Linked DNA regions of Homo sapiens: regions 1 and 3 are each linked to region 2. The links are contacts of gene promoters, found by promoter capture Hi-C in human tissues and cell types (Jung and others, 2019). All regions are on one chromosome and are shown on one strand. Each heading gives the region's core, a stretch centred on a gene start or on the middle of the fragment in contact. The rest is flanking DNA. Distances are from core to core; before and after follow the strand shown.

Region 1 (4,414 bases), core at 211-2,710, 130 kb after region 2:
CACAGAAGCCACTCACCCTATGGACCTAGAGACCAAAGTTTCAGACTGTCTAGGACTAACCTGTTTTCCCATGATTTTGTTTTCTCTTTCAGAAAAGACCAGGATGTTTAACTTACTGCTTAGTTTAATTTAATGTGCCTTATGCATCATTTCATGTTGATAAATGTGTAACTCTCCAATCATGCTTTATGTCCTGAGTTTCTGCTTGGGGAACACAGAGAATGTCAGTTCTCAGTTGTCAGGAGGGCCTGCCCCATTCTCTGCTTTCCCTGTCTTTGCCTCCAGCCCTGGCTCTGGGAGAGATGAGAGGAAGGGCCAGGGTCCCCTTCTCCCTTCCCAGTGCCCTCACCTGCACTCCTCGCCCTCCAGCAGTTTGCGGTAGGTGGCGATCTCCACATCTAGGGCCAGCTTCACGTTCATCAGCTCCTGGTAGTCACGCAGCAGCCGCGCCAAGTCCTCCTTGGCCTGCTGCAGGGCCTCCTCCAGGTCATTCAACTTGTTCCTGGCATCCTTGAGGGCATGCTCCCCACGCTGCTCGGCATCTGCGATGGCATCTTGCACATTCTTACACTATGACAGAAGGACAGAGAATGGATTCTGCCTGACGGAGGCGGACAGAGAGCAGAGGTGTTCGAAGTGCAGGAAGCCAGAACCACTGGCCCTGGGAGTGTTAGGTCCCCTCTGGAGTTTAGTCGCAAACAACTGTGCTAAGACTTGCCGCTGTCTCTGGCACATCTTCTTCCCATGTCACCGTTGATGACACCCTTTGGCTTTCCCCATAGTGCCCTTTGATCCTCACATCACAGGGCCTGAATCATGATCCCATTTTACAGATGGAAATGAAAACATTTGAAATGGTCTGCTTGGCAAAGCTTCTGCTGCTGATGGAATCCACTCTCTGCCTCTACCTTTTCTATTCCAAAGCTAACGTCCAGCCCCAGGCCAGCTGCCCTCAATACTCACTGCCCCTCTATGAAACCAGTCGGCTGGTGCTCAGGGCCTGTGCTGAGCACAAACGGGAAGCTCCATCGGCAATCTGCAGCAAATCAATCAAACTAACGTTTGCTCTATTTGTTATGACTCCCTTTTCCTCATATAAACAAGTGAGCACAATTCTTTCCCTTCGATAATCCTTACTTTGGAATGTCTATTAGAGCACTCTAAGAATTGTTATAATAAGCCATAAATTATGTTAAGCTGGGGAATTTGGGATCGATACATGCTAGAGTGCAATATCTCAGTGTCTCTCATCTCTCACATGCACACTCACACACAACCACACTCTCACGCACACCCAGAGACAACCTCCCGCCCCTCGCTGGACAGGGCTGGGCCTCACCTGCTTCTTCACATGTGCGATCTCCCCCTGCAGCCTCTGGATCACGCGGTTCAGCTCGCTGATCTCTATCTTGATCTCTTTCAGGCTGTCTCCATGTCTCCCGACAGTCACCTGGAGCTCCTCATACTGATATGGGGAGAAGAGGACAGTTTGCAAGGAAGTTCCAGCCTGGCTCACATTCCAGACTGACTGGAGTGAAGGAGAGCTGGTTACTGGTCCAGGGAGGGTCAACCCAGCTAAATGTCATGGCTGCATTCATGAGAGGTAGGGACTGTCTCACATGCCCAAAAGGACTTGGTGCCATTCTCAACATCCTTTCTTGGGAATGGTGCCCAACTACCATTAAACAAAAAACCAATAACCTTACTGTACACTTTCCAGCTGGGGGTGCAACCCAGCTCATGGCAGGGAGCTGTGGCTCTTCCTACATTCCCTCTACTTGCCTTGCTGTGGTACAGGGCCTCCGCTTCTTCCTTGCTCCTCTGGGCGATCTCCTCATACTGGGCCTTGACCTCGGCGATGATGCTATCCAAGTCCAGGTTGCGGCTGTTGTCCATGGAGAGGATGACGTTGGTGTCAGTGACACTCTGATGTATCTGGGATATCTCCTACAACACACAGGAAGGTCTGGTCATGACATCCTGCCATAGCTACAGGCAGACAGGAGGCCTCTGTCTCCCAGCATAAGGGAAACGCAGACCCTCAGACTAAGCATACACTAGGTGGGATGAAAATCATGTAACCGTCTACTCCTGGGCCTCTCCCAAGGTTGTCCTGAGAATTGTAGTGAGAGGCACCTGTATTTCTGAGCCTCCTAGTTAACATTCAGCACTTAAGCCAGTTATGGTAAGTGCCCCCAGACAGAAGCTTGTCCATGGCAAATACCTTAAATGGACTTCCTGTTTCAGAAATCATCTGTGCACCCTTGGGTTGGGGAGGGGGATAGGAGACAAATGCATTTTGACCTCTGAAGTACAGTAGGCACAGGAATGGGCACAGGGCTTGTCTCTTCCCCAGGGGAAATGGACATCTGGGGAATGGAGGGAGGGGAAGCTGTCCTGGTGTTTCCTGAACCTTATTCCCATAACATCGGAGGAGAAAATTCCTCACCCACAAGACCTATGCTATGAAAGCCCCCCCAGTGGCCTGGAATGATGGCAGATTGAAGTCAGCTGGTCCATAAACCCCACTTCTGCCACTTTTTCACCAAGCAGAAAGGACTTTCATTTGGTGAGAAGGGTGGGAAGTAAGGGACTGTCCCGGAGCAGCCTCCTTACCGCATCATAGAGAACTTTCAGAAACTCAATTTCCTGGTTCAGCAGGTCCACCTTGGACTGCAACTCCACCTTTATCATGTAGGCATTGTCCACGTCCTGCAAGAAAGGTTGAGGCCTCTGGTGTATGGTTCCCTGTACAGGCCTCTTCCTCTCTCTGCCACTCCCCTCTACTCAGTCCCTGCTGGCTCCTCTCTAAAATCCCAGGCTCCCCAACCTGATCCCTGTCCCCATGGGACTTCTTTTGTCGTGCAGTTTACCATACACCTCTGCCAGGGACTTCATGCCTACGTCCATGGCTCACAGCCCTCAGGACCATCAGAGCCTCGAGATGACCAAGCTTTGCCAACCAGCCCCTCTCTCCTGCTTGAGACACTGTGTGTTTCTACAACAGGATACGATGTTCTTTGTGGGTTTCCACAGTCCTCAGCTCTCTCATCCCGTCTGTCCATCTCACCTCTCCGAAATTTCCCCAGAATATACACCAAAGGCCCTGCAGGACCCAGCAGGAGAACCCTTGCTTTTGGCCTACAACCTCAAACCTTTGTCAGCACAACCAACAGCAACTTTAAGCAGGCATTCTAAGGGAAGTCCCATTCCTTCCTCAGCTCTTTAGAAGGAGAATACAAAGAGATTTTTGTGTTTGCATTTATCATGATTCAGTAGAGGCTTTAAGTGGGTTACTACTGGGAAGCACTCTACCAAAAATGCAGAACAGCTTTGAAAACTGTATCCAGAAGCTTGACCTACAGAGACAATTTTGTTTGCAAGAGAATGTGCCATGGGTCTCACTCCTTTCTCTGGCTGCTGCTTTTGCACTCACAGTTGATTTCCAAACTGGCTGCTTAGACACAATGGGGCTGTGAAGCACTCCTATCCCCACCCCCAGCCAAGACATTCTCTCGCTCACCTTTTTAAGCGTCACAAAATCATTCTCAGCAGCTGTGCGCTTATTGATTTCATCCTCATACCTATTGGGACACAGATGTTACAGCAGTTAGATTAGTTCCCCTTCATTTTTTTTCTTTTCCTTTTATACTGGATTCACCCCAAATGCCCCATTCTCTGGGAATATTACACACTTTTTAAATATCTAAATTGAAACTAAGATTTCCAAACTAAAGATATATTTTTATAAACTAACTCTCAAACATACAAAAGACAAAAATGATCTCTAAAGTCTCACTGTCTTCCTCACAAATAATCAACAAAGATACATATGCCTCTCCCCATTACCACCACAAATGCAACTGGGAGATGAATGGCTTTCCAGGGAGTGATCAAATGGCTCAGTGCAATGTTTATCTCCACTCAGCGTTTCACTCTGCCACCTACTTCTTCTTATAATCCTCCACAAGATCCTGCATGTTATTCAGCTCTGAATTCTGTGATGTTCTTTCTGCAGTGAGCCCATCCAGATATCTCTTGAGGCTGTCGATATACCCCTGGAAGATGGGCTCCAGGTTGATGGGGCGGGTGCCAACATTCATTTGTTGTAGCAGCTCCCATTTGGTCTGTAACACCTGGTTCTGCTGCTCCAAGAACCGCACCTGCCATGACCAGAAGGAGAGCACATGAGTTCTAGATCATCCTTCACACCAAGCAAGCCACGCTGGCCAGGGGCAGCTCAGGTGCTGCTTCAGGACCTCGAGAAGTGTCTGAGGCTGGATGCCGAGTCATGACTGGCAGAGCTTCTGAGCTCCCTGCTTTCGCCCCTGGAAAGTCCCACAGACTCCTAATGCTACATCCGGCTCTCTCCACGCAGAGGAGACTCTTTGCTGCTTCACTGCTCACTGGTTTG
Region 2 (3,879 bases), core at 1-2,500:
TGCTCCAGGAACCGCACCTGGAGGGGAGCAGGGTTTGAAGATAGAGAAACTTGGATTTCATGTTCTATGATCAACTCACTAAGGTGCCTCCCACCTCTTTCCGTCCCTCTAAAGCTTTTCTGTGCACTGTGCCTGGCCCTGGGCCCCAGGAGGGGAGGTGCAGACTGAGGCACCCAAACTCACTTTTCCAGGGGGAGATAGGACACCTATCCAGGGCACAGAAAGCACTAGGAGTGCTGCTTGGAGTGTGTCCCGGCTCAGGGGTGGCTGCAAAGGCACTCAGGCTGCTGCCCATGCACTTGTCTACCTTCCTGTACAGTCAGCCCCTTTATATATGGCATGAAATTCATCTCTCTGTCCAACAGTTGTTAAGAGGCCCTTGTGAGCTAACCTCTGAATGGGAAGAAATAATTCTCCCTTCCCAGCTGCCAGTCTAATTCAGAACGTGTCCACAAATCCAGGGCACAGAAACAAACGGAAACACAGAACTGTACAACTATAAAAGTATTTGCACAAAGCCAAAACATCTTCCTTCTTTCTCTCTCTTTGGCATTTATTTCAGACCCACAGTGATTTTTTACAAAAGATCGTAGCTCACCTTGTCGATGAAGGAGGCAAACTTATTGTTGAGGGTCTTGATCTGCTCGCGCTCCTCGGTCCTCACCCTCTGGATGCTGGGGTCGATTTGCAGGTTGAGGGGAGTCAGGAGACTCTGGTTGACAGTGACCTCTTGGATACCTCCAGGAGGGCAGACAGGAAAGCCAGGGCCACCGAAGCCACCTCCAAAGCCAGCTCCGCCACCGAGCCCAAAGCCACCACCAGCTCCACCGCCGAAACCAAATCCACTACCGGCACCACCTCCAAAGCCATAGCCGCCTCCAGCACCAGCACCAAACCGGTTCCTGAAGCTGCCACCACTAGTGCTGATGGATATCCTCTTGGAGCCCCCCAGGTTGTAGAGGCTCCGGCTGCCATAGCCACCCACTCCACAAGCACCCGCAAGGCTGACCCTGCCGAAGCCACCACCACCGCCACCCCCGGACCGGGACACGGAGGTGAAGCTGGTGCGGGAGACAGACGGGGTGATGGCAGAGGCGGTGCTGAAGCTACGACTGCCCCCGCTCCGGAAGGACACACTTGACTGGCGAGACATGGTGGCTTGTTCCTGGTGGAGCAAGAGAACCAGGCACTAGTGGGTTGGGAGGTGCTGGAGAGAACAGAGCTCAGCAGGACGCAGAAGGTGGCTCTGTTACCCAGGAACGGTGATGCCCCCTTTTTATCCCTTCCAGAACTGGGCTGGGCGAGAGAGCTGTCGAGCTGTGAATGATTAAGTGGGCTGGGCATGCCTGGGGGGCAGCTGTGAGCTCACCGGTCACACCTGCACAGTGGTGTGGGGTGCAAACGCTTTCTTCCTGGCAGGCTCTGCTCAGTTAGAAATAACCTTGCCTTGCAGCACTGATCTCTTGGCAGCAAGTTGGTGACGCTGCTAGCAAGTATGTCTTCACCATAGAGGCTGGGGGCTGTGAGCAGCCCAAAAAGGATGCCAGGAACTGAGGGGGCATTGGCATGGCCAGTGTCCTGGGGACTCTTACAGGACCAGGAGTATTGACAACCATCCCAGTACGGTACATGCTGAGCACCTGCCCTTCCAGCTTGGGGAAGCTGTCCATCAGCGGGGGGCAAACGATTCCCCAGTGATCTGCTCTTACACTTTTCCAGGCAGCAGGTTGCTGCAGGGTTTTCCCCTCTGGGAAAGGCAATCTGTAGCCTTATATTCTTGGTTATGTGCTAGAGGGAAAATAGAGTTTCATCCTTTTCTGCACAATTTTTTTCTTAGGGAAGGCACAGCTATCCCAGAGCCCACTGGGCAGATCTGCCTGCAAGGTTTAGGCCAGAGAATGTGGGAAGCCCTCAGCGCCCCCTATAAACCACTTTGACCTCTTTAAGGCCAGGTTTATCCTTCCATAGCTCCTCCTAACTCAGCATTTTTTCTGCCCTTTGACCTTTTCCTTGCTCTTTGGCCTGGGCAGGACTCTGTGGGGGGTTTAGGAAACCCGGGGATCCCATGCAATCCCTTAAAAAAAAACCCTGAGACTCATGGGCTATAGCGTCTCTCTTTGGGGGTAGCTACTCTGCCGGTTCCCCAGCCCCCCAGGTGTGTTCCAGCAAGCTCTATTCCACTAGGGAAGAAATGAGTCATCGTATGTGTTGATACAGGCTGAAGGCCGCCACAAACACATACCTGCAGGAGCTTCTAATCTCATCAGGAACATGTTGAGAGTCTGACGGCCTGTTATAACGGCGAACCACCCTGTTCCAAGCAGCGGGACTTGCTCTGCTTTCTCTATGCTGTAGCCCACAGCCTCCTTCAGGGCCAAGGCAATGGAAAACGGGATTCTAAGTCTATGGATTGTCCTGCCAGAAAGGCTAGCCAGAGCAGGCCTGTGGGCCCAGGCAGCTGGCATGACAATCTGCCAGCTGCTTTAGGGAGGGCCCTTTGAGATCCCCTCTGCAAAACTTGTCTGGGGGGTTGTGGCACCAGGTGGAGGAAAGGGGGTTTCTGATGAGGTTTTAACACACGTCTGTTCTAAACCACACCCACTCTTTTTGGCAGCAGATCTGAGTGGGGCCACCTCTCTGCCGTCCCCCAAATAGAAGCAGGGCTCTCAGGCAGGACAGTGCTTGGGCTGTTCAGAGTTTCGGGGGCGCCCTGTGGCCCGAGGCTGGAGGTAGGAATGCAATGGGGATGGCTTCAAAGCCTCAGGGAGGAGGGGCTATATTCTCAAGAGTAGAAGAACAGGACCAGACCCAGGCTCAGGAATCTCTCACCAGGGCCTGCGGTTGGCCACAAGGAAGCCAAGGCAGTGGGAAAATGACTCCCTGGTGCTGAGGATCAGCTGAAACAGTGACTTCTCACCAGAGGGCTGCGATGAGCAAGCAGCTGACAGGTCAATCTCGGCAGACAGACCAATGGCCGGAGCCGGTCTTACAGGTCTTGAGCAAAATGGTTTGGGTGGCCTCCCTGGCTGGAGCATTTCTGAGACCCTCAGAGATGAATTGTGCTGAGCTCACCATTTTCACATTTGGTTGCTTTCTGGAGAACAGATGTGAGTGTCCTGGAGGCCTGAGACATACCAGGGGACCCTCGGCTCCTGATAGAACAGAACAGATCCAAGCCTGAAGCAAGTGTCTGAGGACTCGTAGTGGGATGCTCCTGCTCCACTCAAAGATCGATATCGGGGTATATCCCCACCACCACATACACTCACAGGTCCCGGGTACAGACCTCACTGCCCTCAGGGAAGCCCCACCCCTCCTGAGACACTGGGACATTCTCTTCTCCCCATTCATTCTCCTCCCAGCTGTGTTGTGAAGAAAGAGGACTTGGCAGAGCAGGAATGCGTTCTGGCTAGTCTGAGGATTGCTAGAGTGTGCCAAGCTCAGATCCATGTGCCAGGGACCAACGGTGAGTGTGTGGTGCTCCATGGGAGCAGGGAGCATGTGGGTGCTCCATGGGAGAAGCAGCAGCACTCTTCTATCCGAGCTTCGTGGGAATCCTCCCATGAGCAGGCAGGGCAGCCCCTCCCTCAATGCCAGACCTGGACAGGTATAAATAATGGAGCCGCTCCTGGTGGGGAGCCAGGCACCAGCACCACTGCAGCTCGGGAGAGTCCCACCCCAGCCTGGAATTTCACTGTGGCAGGAAGGGAGGGATTGTGTTAGGCTCACCAGGGAGCTTTCCTGCTGGGCACCCCACAGAGGCAGTTCCCAGGCTTGGTGGGACATGTTGCTCAGCTTCTCCTCTGGGTGCTGCTTTCCTTGTCAGCAGAAGACAGTGCAGGGCCCGCCCTGCTGCTCTCCCCATCAGAGAAAGGACAG
Region 3 (4,194 bases), core at 1,357-3,856, 93 kb before region 2:
CTGAGCCTGACTCCAGAGTTTCTCTTCCTTCTGGATGCTTATGGGGGGAGGGGCACACTCCTCTTCCCTCAGCGTCTCCCAGCCCCACACTCAGAATCCCAGGGTGGAGGCTGGAATATTCTTGATGGATCAAGTGACAGATTAACCTGTTGGCCAGTGAACTCTGCCCCCGTTCTCCTCCCAACCTATTCTTCTCCTAATTTATAACTCATCCCCTTACACATTCTAGCACCCTACTTTGGGTCCTGCCGAAGGAAAATCAAATTTTAAAAAAATAGACTCCGTTATAGGATGAATTGTGTCCTTCAAAAACCTATGGTGAAGTGTTAACACCAGTATCCGTGAATGCAACCTTATTTGGAAATGGGATCGTTGCAGGTATAACCAAGTTAAGATAAAGTCTGTAGGGTGGGCCCTGATCTAACATGACTGGTGTCCATACAGAAAGAAGGAAGACATTCATCTGAAGCCACAGACACACAGGGACACGGTCATACAATCACAGAAACAGAGAGTGGAGGGATGCAGCCACAAGCCAAGGAACACCGAGGATGGATGGCCACCGCCAGAGCTAGGAGGAGGCTGGAGGGGGGCTGGGCTGCCCATGCTGCCTCCGTGTTCCAGAACACTATCTGGTTTGGAGAGGGGATAGTGCCACCCTGCATGATATACAGAGCAGGAGGCTGGTCCAGGCTCCAAGTTTCAGAGGGACCAGGGCCCTGCTAACCCTTAATTTCAGCCTCCGGAACTGTGAGACAAGACATTTCTGTTGCTTTAAACCACCTGACTGGTGGTACTTTTTGCAACAGCCCTGGAAAACTAATACAGACAATTAGGTGTTTTCAAGAGAAAAGGAGCTTCAAGGTTATGCTTGAAGGCCTGTCCCCAAAATTAGCTTTGAGGGTCTCTGGCACCACTAGACAAAGACATCAGGGAGGAAGGACACCTGGGTGGTTCAGAGGGCTCTGCCTTCTAGAATCATTGGCTAATATAATGAATTGCCCTTATGAATGCCCATCAAGAAAACCAAACTCAAACTCACTTGTAGAGGGTGAGTTGTAAGAGTCATTTCTGTTGCCCTTGTGATGCCAGCACTGAGCTCTGCGAATGACCACTTCTTCTCTCACCAGCACAGGGCCATGCCAGCTTGTTAATACCTCTCCTGTTTTAGAGCTACTGTAGCCAACTGCCATATTTTATGCTGCCCTTACTGCCTTGAAAACCCTTGGCATCCTTCTGCAGTTATACTCGGCAGAGTTGAGCCAAGCAGTGGAGCTTCTTCTCAAACTGTTTAGGAGAGAAGCTGCCTAGTTGGCAATGCTCTTGTCCACAGCATGAAGGCTCCCTTCAAAGGTCCAAGCCAGACCAGGAATTTTCATAAATCCCGTCTACATCAAGTGCTCACCTCTGTGCTAGGCTTGCAGCCCCAACAAAAAGGCAGGGAATTCTGGGAGGTAGGAGATGTGGCCAGGATCTTTTAAACCCACTCAGAACAATGACATCAAACCTCTCATCACCCCTTCTGTGACACCCTCACTCTCAAAGAGGAAAGAACTGTGACATTAAAGACTCCTAATATGGCTTGCTTTTTAAGGGACCCAAAACCTCAAACCTTCTCCAAATGAACGCTGTCTGTGAGATCCCGTCTAACCCGTCATATCTTCACCCTCTGGCAAGCCCACCACATCCCCATCCCCTCTACCACACACACTCCAAATGGCCCAAGAAGTATGTCATACTCACAAATGTTAACTGGAGAAACTCCCTCTCCACTCAACCTGATTGGGAAGAGCAGGGAGAAGGAAGGTTACCAATGTGGCCAGCAGCTTAAGGGCCTTTGCAATGACACTTTTGTAATTGTTGACAAAGCATTTAAACATACTTTATTATTTTTATTGCAGAAGTAATGCAGGTTGAAATTATTTGAGAACTAGTAGTATTAAAGATAATATTAATAATCTAATGAATAAAATAAGGTGGAGTTTGAGGTTCACAGGAGCAAAATCTATAATCTCAGAAATACAATTTTTGGTTTAAACTAGTTAGATGCCTTAAGGAAATTAAAAGTAATCATATACTGGCATCAACTGGAAAGAAGGGCCTGTCCTATAATAAGATTTGTCTCTCAACAAGGGACCATTGTCATGCACTGAGCCAGGGCTGAGCTTATTGTATATAGGTGTGGAGAGGCGTCTGAGTCATAAAAATAACAATAGTAATATCAGTTTATTATTATCTTAGCAACCAAGTAACTTTGCTTTAGCATCTTCAGGACAGAACTGGCATTCATTCATAAACACATACTGAGAAACTTAACAAGAGGTAACAGCTGTTGATTACCTGTTACTTATATCACACCACTTAGTTCTCTCAACAACCCCATGAGGTAGGTATTATTTGCTCACTTTTATAGAGGGAGAAATGGAAGCTCAGACAAGTTAACTAACTTGCCCATAGTCGCAAAGCTGGACTTGAAGACAGATTCATCTGACACCAAAGCCTATGTCTTTGGCCATGAAACTGAATGATAGCTAACATTTATCGAACACGCTGTGTACCATGCATTGTTCTAAGAGCTTTGTGTGTATTCCCTTATTTTAACCCTTTTAATAATGTGAGAGTTTAGAACTATTGTTATTCACATTTTATTGGATGAGAACACTGAGAGGTGGAGAGGTTAAGTATCTGCTCTTGGCTACACAGCTCCTAACTGGCAGAGCACAAAGCTCCCATGAAGCTTTGCGGATCATGTAATCTGACCTTTTCATTTTATCATTGAAGAAATTGAGGGCCAGAGAAGGGAGACTGACTTTCCCAAGGTTATGTAGCTACTTAGTGTTAGATCTGTAAGCCCAAATCCTAGGACTGTTTGTTCTCAGCCCATGGCCTTTTAGACCACATTTCGAGAGCTGCCATGTAACCAAATGTCTCCTTTGGTAGAATTCAGTTACTTAGACCTGATCAGGTTTTAGGTTTCTATGGGGATGCTAACTGTAGTTGCACCTCAAATGATTTACTAGCCTGGAAGGAAATTAAAATTATTTTTTTGCCATAGCCCAATTCTGAACTGCATTTTCTTCCAGGAGAAGAAGGGGCTGCAACAGCCCGAGCCCCTAGGAATGCCCAGGAAGCTGAGGTGAGCTCAACTTGCTTTGAGGATGAAGTTGGTGCATCTGCCTCACCTGCACTCCTCGCCTTCCAGCAGCTTGCGGTAGGTGGCGATCTCCACGTCCAGGGCCAGCTTGATGTTCATCAGCTCCTGGTACTCACGCAGGAGCCGAGCCATGTCCTGCTTGGCCTTCTGCAGGGCCTCCTCAAGGTCCACCAGCTTGGCCCGTGCATCCTTGAGAGCCAGTTCTCCCCGCTGCTCTGCATCAGCAATGGCCGTTTGCAAGCTGGAACACTGTAAGGACAGGAGGAAGCCATGAGTCCTGCTGACAGCCCATGGAGGTGTGGTGCTTCTTGGGGAGGAGTTCTTAAAGATGGCAGAAAGGCCCAGAAGAAATGAGCATTTGAGGAGCTCTTGGCCCTGCCAAATCTTTACCTGCTTCTTGACGCTGTCAATCTCAGCTCTCAGCCTCTGGATCATGCGGTTCATTTCAGAGATCTCTTGTTTGGTGTTTCGAAGGTCATCCCCATGTCTGCCTGCGGTGACCTGCAGCTCCTCGTACTGAGAGAACCAGAGCAAACCCAGTCACTGAGTCAAATGCCTGGCCCAGGCACTCGCTGTGCACACAGACCCACCCTGGGTGCCACAAGCAGGCTCATTCATTCCTGGTCATTCACTCATTCCCCCTGAAGCTTACAGTTTATTGGGGGACATAGACATTAACTGAATTAGCATATTATCAAATGTATAGTTCCACACTAAGATAAGTGCCCTTAGGAAATGAACAGGGTCCTGGGAGAGTGTAATGAAGGAATCTGACCTAGATTTGGAAGTGGGAAGTGGTGGTCAGAGAAGTCTCTCCAGAGATGGAGATGCTTGAACTGTGGTCTGAAGGATGAGAAGGAGGGACCTAAGTGACCAGTTGTGGGGGAGAACATTCCAGACAAAGGAAACAGCCTGCATGAAGACTCTGGGTCAGGGAAGGAACATGGTGAGTTCTAGGAGTGAGACGGTGATTTGATCAAGGTCCCTGGGTAGTTCCTGGTCACAGAGCGTGCATCCAGACCAACTGTGCCCATGAATTT

What was found. Contacts are between HindIII fragments. The study calls those that stand out against the background at their distance.
Region 1: a fragment that was not itself captured here is called in contact with the fragment with the promoter of KRT5 in region 2 in 4 of the 25 tissues and cell types used here (H1 embryonic stem cells, dorsolateral prefrontal cortex, liver and 1 more).
Region 3: a contact is called between a fragment that was not itself captured here and the fragment with the promoter of KRT5 in region 2, in 3 of the 25 tissues and cell types used here (H1 embryonic stem cells, aorta and spleen).

What each region holds. Positions count from the first base shown.
Region 1 is chr12:52,646,391-52,650,804 of GRCh38, forward strand. It overlaps KRT2 (keratin 2), which reads right to left. Exons shown (of 9, transcript NM_000423.3): 2 at 3,949-4,163; 3 at 3,524-3,584; 4 at 2,617-2,712; 5 at 1,783-1,947; 6 at 1,340-1,465; 7 at 350-570. Among named protein-coding and RNA genes, the nearest start is that of KRT2, 3.6 kb to the right of the region's middle. The HindIII fragment of the contact is 3,386 bases long and covers 1-3,153 here.
Region 2 is chr12:52,519,144-52,523,022 of GRCh38, forward strand. It overlaps KRT5 (keratin 5), which reads right to left and starts at 1,251. Exons shown (of 9, transcript NM_000424.4): 1 at 599-1,251; 2 at 1-17. The coding sequence starts at 1,153. RefSeq lists enhancers at 1-338, 3,158-3,879. The HindIII fragment of the contact is 8,601 bases long and covers 1-3,879 here.
Region 3 is chr12:52,425,074-52,429,267 of GRCh38, forward strand. It overlaps KRT75 (keratin 75), which reads right to left. Exons shown (of 9, transcript NM_004693.3): 6 at 3,545-3,670; 7 at 3,183-3,403; 8 at 1,744-1,778. Among named protein-coding and RNA genes, the nearest start is that of KRT75, 7.2 kb to the right of the region's middle. The HindIII fragment of the contact is 7,225 bases long and covers 1-4,194 here.